Linked DNA regions of Homo sapiens: region 1 is linked to region 2. Evidence: promoter capture Hi-C in 16 types of primary human blood cells and fetal thymus (Javierre and others, 2016). All regions are on one chromosome and are shown on one strand. The core of a region is centred on a gene start or on the middle of the fragment in contact, and the rest is flanking DNA. Distances in the headings are between cores, read along the strand shown.

Region 1 (6,043 bases), core at 3,317-5,816, 300 kb before region 2:
GGCAAAGGATACAGATATAGACAGTTTGTTATGTAAAGCAGGATATGATACAGCATACGTCCAAACAGAAGTCTCCCAAAGGTCTCCACAGGGATTATACCATCGGCATGCATCGAGGTATAGGGTGTCAAGCCATCCTGGCTTGCCTGGGACTGAGGAGTTTTCTGGAACATGAAACTTTCTGTGTTAAAACCAGGTTTTTGGTTCCAGGCAAAGTGAGGCACTTGGTCACTCGATTTGAGGAGTTTACTTGGCTATACTTACATGCTGTCCAGACCTTACTGCCCACCTGATTATTGTGGCGACTCTAGCCCCACGTCTTCCTGCTTACCAGGGGCAAGTGAAAACACCCAATACATTCTTCTTTACTATGAGACTATATAAAGCAAAGGTCAGTTTCCCAGGTGCATTCTTCAGTAGACCTGGGCCTCAAGCAGTCTGAGGTCCACTCCTGAATCATATAATGGGTTTAAGAATAATTATATGCAAAACTACAAATACTAGAAAGTATGGGATTCAGATATTGACTTTTGATTCTGCTACACGGAGGAACTGTTGTATCCCTTAGCCAGGAGGAATAAGGGCCATGCCTCTGCCTGGATTCTCTTTTTTGGGACCCATTCTGTTCTTGCTCAGTGGTGGTCCACTCTGAGATGGTCACTTCCTTATGGGATTGTTTAATATCAGTCATACAATCTGAGGCCTTCAAACTGATGTGGCTCCAAGTTTAAATTTTAAAGAGAAAGGCTTCGTCAACTGTACCCAAAGATTCTGTCTTTCCTTTAATATACTCTAATAAATCCAGGCTGTGCATTTTTCTTACAATGATATTTATCTGAATGGCTTTCTATTCTGTCTCTAGTTCATCTGTATCTTGTATTTTTTGCTTGTTTTGCTCATTTTGTTTTTTATGTGCTTTGAGCTGTAGCATGGAAAGACAGAAAAAATAATCACAGCTTTTGGCGAGGTTGAGGCAAGTATGTTGTGAAAATATATGAGAAAAACTTGGGGAGAAATGAGAGAATTTTAAGCCGGGAAAATAGGTGAACTACCCTCCAATTGGATGTGTCTCTTCCTAGGCAGTCTTCAACTATGGGAAACATAAATCAAGGACCTGCCTGATCAACAAATCCTTATTGGCTGTATTAGTTTGCTAGTGCTGCCATACCAAAGTACCACAGATTGAGAGGTTTAAACAACCGAAATTTAATTCCTCACAACTGTGGAAGTTAGAAGGCTGAGACAAGGTGTTGGCAGGGTTGGTTTCTTCTGAGGGCCTCTCTCATTGGCTTGTAGATGGCTGATTTTTGCCCTTGTCTTCATAGTCTGTACACTCTGTACATGTCTTTAAGTCCAAATTTCCTCTTCTTTAAGAACACTAGTCAGATTAGAGCCCACCCTATTGACCTCATTTTAATTTAATTACCTCTTTAAAGACCCTATCTCCAAATACAGTTATATTTTGAGATACCGAGGGTTAGGCTGTCAACATATTAATTTTAGGGAGTAAAACTTAGCTTATAACATTACCTAAGCTATCGTTCACCATCAGAGGCACATTTTTAATTTGTCATTTTTATTATTACTAGATAATAAATGTGGCCTTTGTTCAATTCATTTGTTAAGCAAAGTTTTGAAAAATCAGAAGAGTTAAAAGTATGTTACTACTTTGTTAAGTACAGATGCTCTTTGACTTATGATGGGATTACATCCTGGTAAATTCATTGTACGTTGAAAATATCTAAGTAAAAAATGCATTTAATTCATCTAACCTACTGAACATCACAGTTTAGCCTAGCCCATCTTAAATGTGCTCAGAACACTTATATTAGCCTACAGTCGCAAAATCATCTAACAAAAAGCTTATTTTATAATGAGGTGTTGAGTAGCTCATGTAATTTATTAAATATTATACTGAAAGTGAAAAACAGAATTGTTGTATAGGTACTTCAAAGTACTGAATGCATATCACTTTTGTGTCATCATAAAGTGGAAAAATTGTTAAATTGAACCATCATAAGTCAGGGGCTGTCTGTATATAATTAGCACTAATCTTTTTTTTTTTTTTTAAAGTTTCCTCCCTAAAACTGGAAAGCTAATTTTCTGCCCACAGGCTATAGGAACACACCATTTCTTCAGTGATAGATAACAAATATAACCTGAGTACTTCAATATTCTGTACTCCTTGTTTGCACTCCTCGTATACTACCAGGGCTTACAAATACCGTTTGGAAGTTAATACCTAAGATAGATAGTTTCCAAACATAGTTTTCTTTCTATTGCTCTTATATCACCCACTTCATCAACTCTTCAGTATGTCTACAATTAAATAAGTATGAATCCCACTGGCCCAGAGCTATAGAATCTTATAATAGCTATTAAATGTGATATTTACCACATTCTCAGCATTAAGTCAGAAAGGAAAATCCCAGAATTCATTACATTGGGACTTAGCACATAGAGATAACTTGACTAAGTACAGTTCAAATGTTTAACATCTCACAGAGATATTAACTGAAAGGTATTGGTAATTATATTCTTAAATTAAGCAATCTTTCCTTGGAAAGGTATGAAAACACAAAGGCTCCCATCGATTTTCACCTTTTTCTGTTTTTACAAGAGACATTGGCAAACTTCTGTAATTATCTGGAATTTGATTTGTAGTTGATATCGCCAACTGTTAGTCTTTATGCCAGCTAGCCTAAACTTACAGAACAATCAGAATATGCTAACTCAGAAAACCGACAGACTATAGCTCCAGAATATTTTTTTTTTCCATCAGAACTTTCAGGGATGAAAAATCCAGAAGTGTCTCTCAGAAAAAGGTTTGTTTGTTTGTTTGTTTGTTTTGAGACGGAGTCTCGCTCGCTCTGTTGCCCAGGCTGGAGTGAGATGGTGCAATCTCGGCTCATTGCAACCTCTGCCTCCCGGGTTCAAGCAATTCTCCTGCCTCAGCCTCCTAAGTAGCTGGGATTACAGGCACCCACCATTATGCCTGGCTAATTTTTTATTTTTAGTAGAGATGAGGTTTCACCATGTTGGCCAGGATGGTCTTGAACTCCTGACTTCAGGTGATCCGCCCACCTCGGCCTCCCAAGTGCTGGGATTACAGGCGTAAGCCACTGCGCCCAGCCCAGAGAAAGGTTTTTTAACTAATTCTTTTTTTTTTTTTTGAAACAGGGTCCCGCTCTGTTGCCTGGGCTGGAGTGATGTGATCATAGCTCACTGAAACCTTGAACTACTGGGTTCAAGTGATCCTCCCACCTCAGCCTCCTGAGTGGGACTACAAGCGTGCACCACCACTCTTGGCTAAATTTTTAAATCTTTTGTAGAGATGAGGTCTTCCTATGTTGCTCAGGCTGGCCTCAAGCTCTTGGCCTCAAGTGATCCTCCTGCCTAAACCTTTTAAAACTAATTATTGATTCAATAGCATTCCCACAGCCAGAAAGCTCATATGGCTTTGAAGTCAATTCCCAAACACTTAATTTAAAATTGGTGTTCTTCCAAATACCAATTTTTTTTTCAGCATTAGAGGATTGAGCTACATTGTTGCCAGAAAAGGTCAATTATTCAATAATTCTGACTTATGAGTAATATAGAAAAATACCTACTAGTCAAGTAAAAAGTCATTAAGGATCAAACAACAGGATCTTAGGATACGGGACTAATCAGGACCAGATACCCCAGATCATGTAGTTCAGTGGTTCTCAAACTTTAACAAGCATCAGAATCACCAGGGAGGCTTGTTAAACTATAGATTATTGGGCCCTACTCCCAGAATTTCTGATTCAGTAAATATGGGGTGGGGCCTAAAAATTTGCAGTTCTGACAAGTTCTCAGATGATGCTGATGCTGTTGGTCTAGGGATCACACTTTGAGAACCGCTGATCTTGTTGGGTTTTCTCCTTCTAAAGTTGTTTATCAGCTAAGAGGACTGTTTATTTAATGAAGAAGATGTTCTTGGCCAATTTGTTACCTACCTCAAGAGTAGACAAACACAATGGCTGAAGAGAACTTACTACGTGAAACACCCAGATCGTACATACCATAACTCAGTGAGGTAACTACTACTGTGATACCCATTTCACAAATGAACGGATATGAGAACAGGGAGTTGAGCCCAGACAGGCTTCAGAGTGAGTTCTTAACCACTTCCACTACTCTGCTTGTTCCCATGGTAACAGCTAAGAACTTAACTGTGTGCATTGATCCATCAAGAATAATGATAATGATGCTGGGTACAGTGGCTCATGCCTGTAATTTCAGTACTTTGAGAGGCTGAAGCAGGAAGATGACCTGAGCCCAGGAGTTTGAGACCAGTTTGGGCAACATAGTGAGACCCTATCTCTACACACACACATTTTTTTTTTTAATTAGCCAGGTGTGGTGGCTCGTACCTGTAGTCCCAGCAACTCAGGAGGCTGAGGTAGGAGGATCACTTGAGTCTTGTGACCAAGGCTGCAGTGAGCCATGATTGTGCCACTGCACCATTGCACTCCAGCTTGGGCAACAGAGTGAGACCCTGTCTCTAAAAAAATAAAAATAAAAATTATATGTCAATGAAATATGCCAAAAACATGTTCCATTTTAAACAAATTACTAAAGTGGAACATGATTTTTACAAACCATGTTAAATACATGCTAATTACAAGAACCAGAAACCAACCTGAGCTGAATATGTACAACTGAATATGAAATGTGCACAATCCAAGGGCTTCAGGAAGAGACTAGAACAAGGACTTGGAAAGTGTTAAGACTGTTTCTCTCTGCTTTGCATTTCATCTGTTTCTCTCCATAACAGACTTTCCCGGCAGTCTCAGTTCACATGGAGGAATCTGGCCACCCCAAAACTCTTAAATTTACATTTGAAGGGTGGCAAAATATGCTACCCCGAAACATTCCACTTTGGCATAAGGATTACTTTCAGCTAAAGGCACTTGAAAAATAGATACAAGAAGGGCATTCTAATCTCTTTTTCTTCTGGAGAATAGGAAGTTAAAATCTCCCATGTAAAAGATGTCCTCCCTGTATCAGGAGAAAGGAAACATTATTCAACTGGGAGTCTTAGCTGAGAGAATTCTGTACAAACAGACCTTGTTAAAATAATTATTATCTTCCTTTTAGTTTCCCAACATAATTTAGTTACTTTTCCACAATTGCCTCTCTTTGTTCAACTCAATATATTAATAAAAGCATGTAGTTTTTGCCATTTCTTTGGATCTTCATTTCTTTATGACAGCTCCTATGTCACATAAAATTTATATTAAATCTTTATTCCTTTCTCCTGCTAACCTATCTTATGTCAATTTAATTCTCAGGCCCAGCCAAAGACCCTAAGAGAGTAGAGGTAAAATTTTGCCTCGACTACACATTCACAAATTCAGGCCCACTCAGATTAACTGGCTGTTACTCAGTTCTAATCCCCAATTCCTAGTGGAGAGAATCTGAATGGCCTTAAGTGTTCCCCCTGGTTCAATCATTTATGGCTATGGAAGTGGGATCATGCAGTGTAACTTTGGCTACCTCTGTGCGTGAGGCAGGGGAGGAAATCATCGGCTGTGAGCTGAGCTCACACTTTTTTTTTTTTTTGAGACGGAGTCTCGCACTCTCGCCCAGGCTGGAGTGCAGTGGCGCCATCTCGGCTCACTGCAAGCTCCGCCTCTCGGGTTCACGCCATTCTCCTGCCTCAGCTTCCCGAGTAGCTGGGACTGCAGGCGCCCGCCACCACGCCCGGCTAATTTTTTGTATTTTTAGTAGAGATGGGGTTTCACCGTGTTAGCCAGGATGGTCTCGATCTCCTGACCTTGTGATCCGCCCGCCTCGGCCTCCCAAAGTGCTGGGATTACAGGCGTGAGCCACCGTGCCCGGCCGAGCTCACACTTTAAAAGGAGTGCACTCAGAAACTCTTGCAGTGCTTGATCACTTCTCTCTATCACAGGATACCTTCTATCTCTTAAAGTGTAGACCAAGAATGTAATTCGTTCCTGACCTATCAAATTGGCAAAAACCCAGATGCCAATATACACTGATGGTGAGGCTGAGA
Region 2 (5,525 bases), core at 1,894-4,393:
CCGGGCATGGTGGCTCATGCCTGTAATCCCACACTTTGGGAGGCTGAGGCGGACGGATCACCTGAGGTCAAAAGTTTGAGACCAGCCTGGCCAACATAGTGAAACCCTGTCTCTACTAAAAATACAAAAAAATTAGCCAGGCATGGTGGCGGGCTCCTGTAATCCCAGCTACTCGGGAGGCTGAGGCAGGAGAATCACTTGAACCTGGGAGATGAAGGTTGCAGTGAGCCAAGATCACACCACTGCACTCCAGCCTGGGCAACAAAGTGAGACTTCTTCTCAAAAAAGCAAAAAACTTAAGCTACTTGTAAAGATAATGGTATTGTTGTCTAGTATTTTATTAAAATATGGAATATTGAGTGGTTGTCATCTCTGGATGAAAGTATTTGGGGGGATTTGTACTTTTCTTTTTTTTTTTATAGATTGCCTGATTTATTTTACAATGACTATGCATTACTTTTAAAATCAGAAAAGAGTGGTAGGAGAGCAAATGCTGGAAAGATTTTCATGTGAAATGGTATGTTCAGATAAACAGATGATTATTTGGGGTAACATTAGTAATAAAATGCATTAAAATGTAGGAGGATTCTGGTGGTGGCTCTGGAGAGAATAGAATACTTCACCTTGTCTTGTAATAATAAAACCCTAAAAACAATATTTTTCCATTTGATTTTTTTTTTTTTTTTTTTGAGACGGAGTCTCGCCCTGTCGCCCAGGCTGGAGTACAGTGACGTAATCTCGGCTCACTCACTGCAAGCTCCACCTCCTGGGTTCACGCCATTCTCCTGCCTCAGCCACCCGAGTAGCTGGAACTACAGGCGCCTGCCAGCACACCAGGCTAATTTTTTGTATTTTTAGTAGAGATGGGGTTTCACCGTGTTAGCCAGGATGGTCTCGATCTCCTGACCTCATGATTCACCTGCCTCGGCCTCCCAAAGTGTTGGGATTACAGGCGTGAGCCACCCGCCTGGCCTCCATTTGATTTTTTATTGTTAGTTGACTCCTGTACTGTGAGCCATGCTAACTGTGTAGTCATTCCAATTTGGAATTTAAGGATATATCCAATGCCCATTGATCACTTTTCTTAATCGGAAATTTTTCTTTATCTAAAAAGAGGCCAAAAAGAACTTTAACTTACTTGTCATCTCACGTGGCAGAAATAAAATTACTAAGAGAAGAAATCTTCCCATTTGCATTATGACACTGCTCTTCCATGCCATCTTTAATGAGTTAAACTCAGATCTACTAAGGGAAAAATAGTGCAGTTGGTTTTGTACTTTGGTCTGCAATGAGTTCGTGAACCTTCCTTCTGTCTATTATGCATTTAAAGTGAAGTCCCAGATGAATCATCCCAGCTATAACGGTACTACTTCTAGCTTTTAATTAAACAACCCTGTCTGACTAAGTTCAAAGTACATTTAGTAGTAAGAAATTTTTTTTAAAAGCAACATAAAACCACAGGAAATAGGCTATGACAGATAGAGCAGCGTCAGGGTGCCCTGGGGAAGATGAAACCAGTCTTCCCTAGAGAAACTGATAGAATTTCATTTTAGCAGAATGAAACTTGTCTCATTCTCAGACAGTCCCTACTGAACAAAGTAATTCTTGTTCTGAAAGTTTTTCTTGGGTCATTTTTGTAAAGATGTTCTCTGATAATAGAGAGTTTTTGAGACTACTCCAAATCCCATAGATTCAAATGGTGTGTACGTAGAAAAGCCTCAATTGAAACATGGCCTCTAGTTTAAACCATGTTAATCTTGTCTTTCTCCCACTATTCTCTCTCTCTCTTCCCCTTGACCCAATGGACTAAAAATAATAAATAATAAAGGTGTCCTTTCTCCCTTCTTGCTTTTGCTTCAACTCTCCCTCTCCCTAAGATATTCTCCATTTCCATCTGGGAAAAAAACATATATTCATTACTTCCTTTCAAGAGTACTACTATAAATATAGCGAACCACATACGGAAAACTTTCTGCGCAACAGGGACTGTGCTAAACACTTTACATACATCATTTCAGTCACAATTAAGCCTCCTAACAACCCTCCTGAGGTCGTTTCTATAGATTTAAAGAGACTATGTAATTTGCCTGAGATCCCACAGACAGTAAATGTCAAGGTCGGGATTTGAACCCAGACTCCCAAGACCATGCTCTTAACCACCCTACTCTCAACCACCCTACTACCCAATCTACTGCCTAGATTAATATTCTTTTCCTTTAAGAAGCTGCTGTTAGGCTGGGTGCAGTGGCTCATGCCTGTAATCCCAGCACTTTAGGAGCTGAGGCAGGTGGATTACCTGAGGTCAGGAGTTTGAGACTAGCCTGACCAACATAGTGAAACCCCATCTCTACTAAAAATGCAAAAAAAAAAAAAAAAAATTAGCCAGGCATGGTGGCGAGCGCCTGTAATCCCAGCTACTCGGGAGGCTGAGGCAGGAGAATTGCTTGAACCTGGGAGGTGGAGGTTGCAGTGAGCCAAGATTATGCCACTGCACTCCAGCCTGGGCGACAGAGTGAGGCTCGGTCTCAAAAAATAAAAATAAAAAATAAAAAAATAAAAAAAAGCTGCTGTTAATCTTTTCCAGTCCCTGGCCACTGGGAGTTCTCTCCCCTTAACACCAGTATTAATTTACAAGAGCTGAAATATACCTATACCTACTCTACTCCTCCCCTGTCCCAGGCGTGCCCTGACAGGAGTAAGTTTCATTCATGCCAGGCTCACCCTTTCTGGCAGACAAGCCTGCATCAATCTTTTCGTAAGATGCAATTACTACTAATATTGATTCTTTTGTAATTTTAAATATTTGCCAAAAAGATTTCTATCACAGTGTTGTAACAGTGATTACTGCAGAATGTGGTCAATAGTAGAGTTTTCTCAAGCGCTCTGCACTACAAGTACTCAATAAAAACTGAGAGTGCAGGCTTCTTGCCAGACCTCACCCAGCCCTATTAAGGGGACAAATCTATGTCTTCTCTTTCCCTCCACTCCACCGAGACAGCAACTTTTCAAAATGTATTCCCCTCACTTGGCTTGTTTTTAATCTGTATGACTCTCTACTTTCTATATAAGACAGTCTTACCACTTACCTCTTGAGCTCTGAGAAGCTGACTTCCTTGGCCAACTGTTCCTCTGCCTGAAAACCCTAAATGCTTTCCCTGTTACAATCCTTTATAATACTTGAATTTGAACGCTTTATGACAGCAGGGTCAAATAAATAAGATAACTTGGGTTCAAAGTCTGTTTTTCTTTATGGAGTCTTAGAGAAGATAGTAATTGGGAAAGACATCTTCTTAAGATCTAAGTTTCTATGTCTACCTCGGTTACTAGGTGGGGCCGGATATTACTAACAGGGATGTGTTGTTCCAAGAAAGCTTGAACTTGTGCAAAAATCTGTAGCGCATCTCACTGAATATTGTCATATTTAAGTAAGATGGCTGCGTTTTGATCATCTAGCCTGGGGATTGTGAAGGGACGAGTCCAAAGAGAAGTTTGACTTTAACAGAGGTCAAAACATTGGAAGATTCTACACAACTTAAATAATGCTGGAAAAGTCTTAGTTACCACTAGTAACCCAAGCCCAGTGCATAAGCTGTACCAAGCCAGGCATGGCAGGGAGCCGTTTTTTTGTTGTTGTTGTTTGTTTTGTTTTTTGAGGCAGGGTTTCACTCTGTCACCCAGATTGGAATGCAATGGCACAATTGTGGCTGACTGAACCTCTGCTCCCAGCCTCCCAAGGAGCTAGGACTACTGGCGTGAGTCACCATGCCCAGCTAAACTTTGTTAATATATATATTTTTGGTAGAGATGAAATTTCGCCATGTTTCCTAGGCTGGTCTCTAACTCCCGGCCTTAAGCAATCTGCCCACCTTGGCCTAGGGAACAGTTTTATCCTCTTGAGGCTCTCACCTGATTGGGAGATCCTTGCATTACACTATGTTTATGGTATTGTTAACGATGCAAATTTTATCTGCCAAGTACTATTGTTCCCATTTACACAAAAATATAACAGAAGAATATTTATAGTTATCTACACATTTTAACACACTGCTGAAGCACACCAGCAATCTGCCTCTTACTAGCTATGTAACTTTGAAAAGTTATTTAACCTCCATGAGCCTCAGGATCTTCATCAATACAATGGAAATAGTAATAGTACCCTCCCTACGGAGTCACTGTGAGGATTAAATGAAATGAAGCATGTGAATCTGCCGCACAGTAAGCTCTTGGTAAACAGTAGCTCTTATTACTATTATTATTAATATAGGCTGAGCAGGGCATCCTAAATCAACACAACCTCACTATAGCATTGTTCAAGCAAAAATCAGAGCTAAGAGCAGCTCCTGTTGGCTGGGTTGCAAGCACCACCCAAACAGGTTTTGAGTTTGCCTCTCCAGGGATCCAAGATTGTCATTTTAAAATGAATTTAGCAATGGAGTGATGTTTTGGTTCTTGGTGCCTCCAAAATAGACCCTGAGACAGAGCTTTGAGTGCCAATAGTTTATTTAAAGGTGATCTCGGCCGGGCACGGTGAGTGGCTCACTCCCTTAATCCCAGCACTTTGGGAGGCCGAGGAGGGTGGATCATTTGAGGTCAGGAGTTCGAGACCAGCCTGGCCAATGTGATGAAACCCCGTCTCTACTAAAAATAGAAAAATTAGCCAGGCATGGTGGCGGGCGCCTGTAATCCCAGCTACTTGGGAGGCTGAGGTGGAAGAATCCCTTGAGGCTGGGAGGTGGAGGTTGTGTTGAGCCAAGATTGGACCACTGCATTCCAATCTGGGCGAGAGAGTGAGACCCTTCCTCAAAAAAAAAAAAAAAAAAAAGTGATCTCAGGAAGCATAGTAAGGAAGTAAGATAGGGAAGGGAGGAAACTAGTAAAGAATGTGTTAAAGATTACTACCGTGAGCAACTATATCCCTGGAGCTTTGGACAAGTTGTATTCTGTGCAGCATACCTCAGAATCAACTACTGATAGGGAAGGAAGCAACTTCTCTCCATCTCCGGCTGAGGGACACTCTCAAGGTGTTGACTCTCTGGCACTTTCAGCCTGCCCTGTGAGGGCAAAGTGTACTCTCTCAAGCTGGCCAACATGTCCAGGAAAAGATGCTCAGGAAGTCACTGGCTATATGGGAACTCTTTGCAGGTAACTTCTGGGTAGGCCAAGGATGTGTGAGTAGAGCACCACCAGCAACTTCTACAATTGGATATTAGGTGATATTAGGAAATAATGATTAATTATTATTAGTTGTGATCATGGTATTGCAGTTATGTAGAGAATGTTCTAATTCTCAAGGGATGCCTGCTGAAATATTTATGGGTCAAGTGTCATGATAATTGCAACTACCTTTCAAATGATTCAGCAAGAAAAGTAAACACATAAACACACAGCAAATATAGCAAATGTTAACATTTATTCAACTAAATAGGGGTCTATAGATCTTCATTGTACTATTGTTTCAACTTTTCTGTATGACATTTTTGTCATCAGAATGTTGGGGAAATGTATTCAGCAGATATTTATTGAGT

What was found. The method cuts DNA at HindIII sites, captures the fragments that hold promoters and counts their contacts. A CHiCAGO score of 5 or more calls a contact.
Region 1: a fragment that was not itself captured here is called in contact with the fragment with the promoter of TMIGD1 in region 2 in 1 of 17 cell types (M2 macrophages); the score reaches 9.7 in M2 macrophages.

What each region holds. Positions count from the first base shown.
Region 1 is chr17:30,027,508-30,033,550 of GRCh38, forward strand. All of the region lies in intron 7 of EFCAB5 (EF-hand calcium binding domain 5), which reads left to right. Among named protein-coding and RNA genes, the nearest start is that of NSRP1, 86 kb to the right of the region's middle. The HindIII fragment of the contact is 5,412 bases long and covers 1,861-6,043 here.
Region 2 is chr17:30,330,914-30,336,438 of GRCh38, forward strand. TMIGD1 (transmembrane and immunoglobulin domain containing 1) reads right to left here and starts at 3,144. Exons shown (of 7, transcript NM_206832.3): 1 at 3,087-3,144; 2 at 1,139-1,245. The coding sequence starts at 1,220. The HindIII fragment of the contact is 5,890 bases long and covers 1-3,369 here.